Linked DNA regions of Homo sapiens: region 2 is linked to region 1. The links are contacts of gene promoters, found by promoter capture Hi-C in blood cells and fetal thymus (Javierre and others, 2016). All regions are on one chromosome and are shown on one strand. The core of a region is centred on a gene start or on the middle of the fragment in contact, and the rest is flanking DNA. Distances in the headings are between cores, read along the strand shown. Region 1 holds the start of TNFRSF1B (TNF receptor superfamily member 1B). Region 2 overlaps CLCN6 (chloride voltage-gated channel 6).

What was found. Contacts are between HindIII fragments. The CHiCAGO score rates a contact against its expected background, and 5 or more counts as called.
Region 2: a fragment that was not itself captured here is called in contact with the fragment with the promoter of TNFRSF1B in region 1 in 2 of 17 cell types (neutrophils and naive B cells); the score reaches 6.4 in neutrophils.

Annotation. Positions count from the first base shown.
Region 1 is chr1:12,165,641-12,168,340 of GRCh38, reverse strand. TNFRSF1B (TNF receptor superfamily member 1B) reads right to left here and starts at 1,350. Exons shown (of 10, transcript NM_001066.3): 1 at 1,172-1,350. The coding sequence starts at 1,249. It overlaps MIR7846 (microRNA 7846), which reads right to left and starts at 1,398; the gene lies at 1,303-1,398. RefSeq lists an enhancer at 283-924 and silencers at 965-1,194, 1,205-1,514. The HindIII fragment of the contact is 7,422 bases long and covers 1-2,700 here.
Region 2 is chr1:11,820,290-11,822,989 of GRCh38, reverse strand. CLCN6 (chloride voltage-gated channel 6) reads right to left here. Exons shown (of 23, transcript NM_001286.5): 6 at 189-295. Among named protein-coding and RNA genes, the nearest start is that of CLCN6, 15 kb to the right of the region's middle. The HindIII fragment of the contact is 5,075 bases long and covers 1-2,700 here.

The sequences.
Region 1 (2,700 bases), core at 101-2,600:
ACAAGAACTGGACTCTCTGGCCTCAGATCAACAAGTCACCTTATGTCACCACAGAAGCCAGTGCCACCTCCCACCTTCCTCCTCGGTCAAGATGTCAGATGGGGGCAGATGGGCCATGTGTCCATCAGGGGCGGCTCTGAGGAAGGATGAACGCCCACCTTCCCCGCAGCCTCAGGGCACAGGGGCCGAAGGCAGGAGAGGCCCCCTTTGGAGGAAGAGTTCCCCCCAGACCCTTCCATGAAATACAAGTTCTCTGAGCCTCAGTTTTCCTTCTCTAAAAAATGGTTTATCTTATCTTACCAAACCATGGAGACAGTAAAACAAAAATGGGGTTATCCTATGTTACCAGACCAGGAGACAGTCAAAAACAGGCAAAGGGTGCACAGTCCCTTGTACGCCCGTTGCTACTGTGGGAGTGACGTTCATATTGAATAGGAGCCCTAGGGTTTCTGCTGTCTCCATTTTCCTGCGGCCCCCGGAGACTTCATTTGCCTTGCTCGATTACCAGCCCAGACCTCCCTCGCTTGCCCTGTCCCCAGAGGCCGCAGAAAACAGACTCTGCAGTAGCCCCCGGACGCATCGGAGGAAGCAGACAGGCAGCTCGCCCTCCAGCTGTGCCCTCAGTGGACCTGACACACACCTGGTCCTGCTCTTCAGACACAGGACCCTGGTATTTCTAAGAAATCGGAAAACCGTCGCCCAGAGGAAAAGGAAGTCTTTTGAAGAGGGTGCCCGGCGTGGGCAGTGGGGCAGCGCCCCGGCACAGCCCCTTCTCCACCGCGTGGGAGGGAAGGGCTGTCGCGGCAGTCGCCGGGGTGAGGGAAGAGGGGTCCCGGGTCTAGCGGGGGTCTGCCCAGGACCCGCTGCTCAGCCCCAAATGCCCCGGCCTGCGCTCGCGGAGGAACCAGGGTGCGCCCCTGTCACGACGCGGGTAAGAGGGGCTTCGGGGGCCAGAGTTGTGCCCCGAGCGCACGTGTGCCGGGCCCGGAGTCCCCAGCGGGTCCCCAGAGGCGCGCGTGTCTGATGCGGATGGGGGGCGGCGACTGGGACTCCCAGCCTCCCAGCCCGTGACAGCGCCCCGGGAGAGCGCGGCCCGGGCACCCGAAGGCTGCGCACCAGCCGGGTGGACATGCGGGGCGGCTGTCCCCCGTGGGCCGCGCGAGTCACCCACCTGGGCGGGCAAGGCGTGCGCCGCAGCCCAGAGCTCCAGTCCGACGGCCAGCGCGGCCCAGACGGCGACGGGCGCCATGGGTGCGGGCGGGGTCCGGTTGCCCCCTGCCCTCGCGCCCTCGCGCCCTCGCAGCCCAGCGCCTTCTCTCCAGGCTCCGCTGCGCTCGCTAGCCCTCGACTGAAAGCGAAAGCCCGCGCCCCAGCGGGCCAGAGGCCAGGCGGCGGGGCGGGGCGGGGCCAGCCGGCCTTGGACACGCCTCCCCCACGCCCCTCCCCAGACGCTGCTGGGCCTCCGACCCGACCACTCCAGCATCGCTGGGCCGATACCTCCAGCGTCACTCCCAGCACTCGGGTGACCCCTCAACCTCCTCCTATCGTCCCCTCCTCTTCGAATCACCATCTCCACCTGCCCGGCCTCCACCTGCCCGGCCTCCACCTGCCCTCCCAGCTCCCACAGGCTTCCCTGTCCCGTGAGGGTGAGGCACTAATTTGGAAAAACATCCCCCAAAGCTGACAGCTGCTTTAGGGGAACCAAGAGAATTCTAGATCATTCACTTATTTAGACTCTATTTTAAATATATTTAATTCTTATTTTTTAATTTTTTTTGAGACAAGGTCTCACTCTTTCACCCATAGCTCACTGCAGCCTCCAACTCCTGCGCTCAAGCGATCCTCCCACCTCAGCCTCCCGAGTAGCTGGGACTACAGGCTCGGGCCACCATGCTAGGCTGATTTCTTTATAGAGATGGGGTTTCGCCATGTTGTCCAGGCTGGTCTCGAACTCCTGAGCTCACGTGTTCTTCCCACCCTCAAGTGATCTTCCCGCCTCTGGCCTCCCAAGGTGCTGGGATTATAGGTGTGAGCCACTGCACTCGGCCTGTTTAGACTCTAGAGCCAGACCACCTGGGTCTGGATCTCTGAACTGACCTCATAGGACTATTCTAAAAATTTAAAGATATGTAATATACATAATGCAGTCTGTACTTTATATATACTTAAGTAAGTATCTACATATATAACAATAGGCATTTATAAATCTTGGCTGTTGTTACTACTCTTCGCGTGTTCATTTATCCTTAAACACGCATCCAGCCTTCTCACAGGGAGAAGACTCTGCACTTCCCTGCTCAAGTCTCCTGCCCAGGCAGGGGGCAGATGAACAGAGGCTGGGAGAGAATGTCACCAGGGAAGCTGCAGGGCCCTGAGGGGCTGCTGAGACCAGGCCCAGGAGAGCTGGCTTCCCCAGGATTTACATCATGACCGAGCACCCATTCCAGCTGCAATCTGTCCCCCCATCCCCACTTTGAGTGCCAGCCCTAATACAGGGCCAGCCCTGCGGGGCCAGAGCACATTCCTCCAGCCCTGGATTACGGGGGTCCTAGCCCCCAGCACATAGGGCATTTCTAAGGGTTGGGGTGGGCTGGGTGGCAGGAGGCTATTCTGTTCCCTGTTTCCTCACTGCAGGCTGCCTGAAGAGGTACAGAGACCCTTGCTCCCGGCCACCAGCCCCACAGTGGAGCCTGCAAGGAT
Region 2 (2,700 bases), core at 193-2,692, 350 kb after region 1:
GAGCATCACCTGGGAGGCCTTTCTTCTTTAATCTCACCAGAGGTGAAACCTTTACCTTTAGTGAACAAGAGGCCACTTTCTGCAGGAATCTGCATTCTCAGTTTCCTGACATTCTGGAAGGAGGTGGGGAAAAGGAGTGCGGGACTCTAAAACCTCCTAAGCGAGCAGGTGAATCCAAACCACCTCACCTCAATGAGAACAAGGAGGCTTGCCAGGAAGACAAAGGTGAGGTTAAAACCCAGGAGTTCAAGGAGAGACAGAGCGAGGCAGCCTTTCTGGCTGCACTCCTCCACCGCTGCGGAAACTGGGTTAAGGAAACTTGTTCATCAGCCGAGGGGTGTCCCCGTCATCACTTGAGAGGGTGCAGCTGCTTCTCCTTTGGATCATGCTGGCTGCTGAGTGCACTTTTTCTCTATATATAAAAATTTTTTAAAAACTGCCTGAGATGACTGGGTGCAATGGCTCATGCCTGTAATCCCAACACTTTGGGAGGCTGAGGCAGGAGGATCACTTGAGCCTAAGAGTTGGAGGCCAGCCTGGGCAATGTAGTGAGACCATGTCGCTACAAAAAGTACAAAAGGTATATGCCTATGGTCCCAGCTACTCAAGAAGCTGAGGTGGGAGGATCGCTTGAGCCTGGGAGGCTGAGGCTGCAGTGAGCTGTCATTGCACCACTGCATTCCAGCCTAGGCAACAGTGTGAGGCCTCATCTCTTAAAAAAAAGAAAAAATTGTTTGAGATGCCTTTGACATTAGGAAATACTTCAAACATTACAAAAAGTAACGAATACCCATACCCTCACAACTGTAGCTTTAACAAATCTCAACAACATGCCATATATGCTCCAGGTATTTTTAAAAAAGAAAACATTCAGTACCATTTTAAGAAACAAAACAAAACAAAAAAAAAAACAGTTTTCCTTCCTCTCTCCCCTGGGAGAAACCACTAACCTGAAATTATTGTGTGTATTTCAAAAGTGTCCACACTGTTGTACACGGCACTTGTATATTCTGTAACTTGCTCTTTTTTTCTCAACATTAAGTCTTTGAGAATTAGCCATGTTGATACACACAACTCTGTGGTTCGTTCACTTTCACTTGTCTAAAATTTTTATTTTACAATCTACAGAAATGACATGATGTCTAAAATGATACCATATGAATGTACCATAATTTTTCCATTCTCCCATTTGGTGACTCCAGCTTTTTGCTATCATAAAGCTATAATTACCACCTTTGTACATGTCTACGGTTCAAATTTCTAAGAGGAATGTATGAGTCACAGGAATGTGCACCTTCCTTTTTCTAGAGGTTTACTGGCCAGTTTTTCTCTTTTGAGAATTCCAGTTCACATCCTTTGCTCGTTTTCCTTCCATTGGACCATCTGTTGTTTTTCTGATTGAGTTGCAGGAGTTCTTCCTGTATTATTTGTTCTGAATCAGAGTCTCATTCTGTCACCCAGGCTGGAGTACAGTGTTGCAATCTCGGCTCACTGCAACCTCCGCCTCCTGGGTTCAAGTGATTCTCCTGCCTCTGCCTCCCAAGTATCTGGACTAAAGGTGCACACCACCACACTCAGCTCAATTTGTATTTTTAGTAGAGACAGGGTTTCACCATGTTGGCCAGGCTGGTCTTGAACTCCTGACCTCAAGTGATCCGCCTGCCTCGGCCTCCCAAAGTGCTGGGATTACAGGCGTCAGCCACCGCGCCCAGCCTCTTCCTGTATTCTGGATACTAATTATCTGCCTCTTAAATGCATAGTAAATAACCTCTCTCAGGCTGTGGACTTGTTTTCACTTTATTTATGGTGTTTTATTGTTGTTATTTGGAGTTTTTGTCTTTATAAATACAATATGTACTTTGATGTGGTCAAATTTATTGATTTTGTTTGTTTTTTTTTTTTGTTGTTGTTTTTTGAGACAGTTTTGCTCTCATTGCCCAGGCTGGAGTGCAATGGCGCGATCTCGGCTCACTGCAGCCTCTGTCTCCCGGGTTCAAGCGATTCTCCCACCTCAGCCTTCCAAGTAGCTGGGATTACAGGCACCCGCCACCATGCCCAGCTAATTTTTTGTACTTTTAGTAGAGATGGGGTTTTGTCATGTTAGCCAGGCTGGCCTTGAACTCCTGACCTCAGGTGATCTGCCTGCCTCGGCCTCCCAAAGTCCTGAGATTACAGGCATGAGCCACTGCACCCAGCCATTGATGTTTTTGTTTGTTTGTTTTTGAGACGGAGTCTTGCTCTGTCACCCAGGCTGGAGTGCAGTGGCGTGATCTTGGCTTACTGCAAGCTCCGCCTCCCAGGTTCATGCCATTCTCCTGCCTCAGCCTCCCCAGCATCTGGGACTACAGGCGCACACCGCCACGCCCAGCTAATTTTTTTGTATTTTTAGTAGAGACGGGGTTTCACCGTGTTAGCCAGGATGGTCTCAATCTCCTGACCTTGTGATCCGCCTGCCTCTGCCTCCCAAAATGCTGGGATTACAGGCGTGAGCCACTGTGTCCGGCCCCATTGATGTTTTTTCTTATAGTCTGTGCCTTCTGGAGTTTTAAGAAATTATTCCCCACTCTTGACAACATATAGTCTCCCGAAGTTTTGTTCTGCATATTTACATCTTCATCTGGAATTTATCTTATTTATAGTATGAAATAGGAATATAACTATTTTTCCATATGGATCACCCATGTCCCAGCATCATTTTTT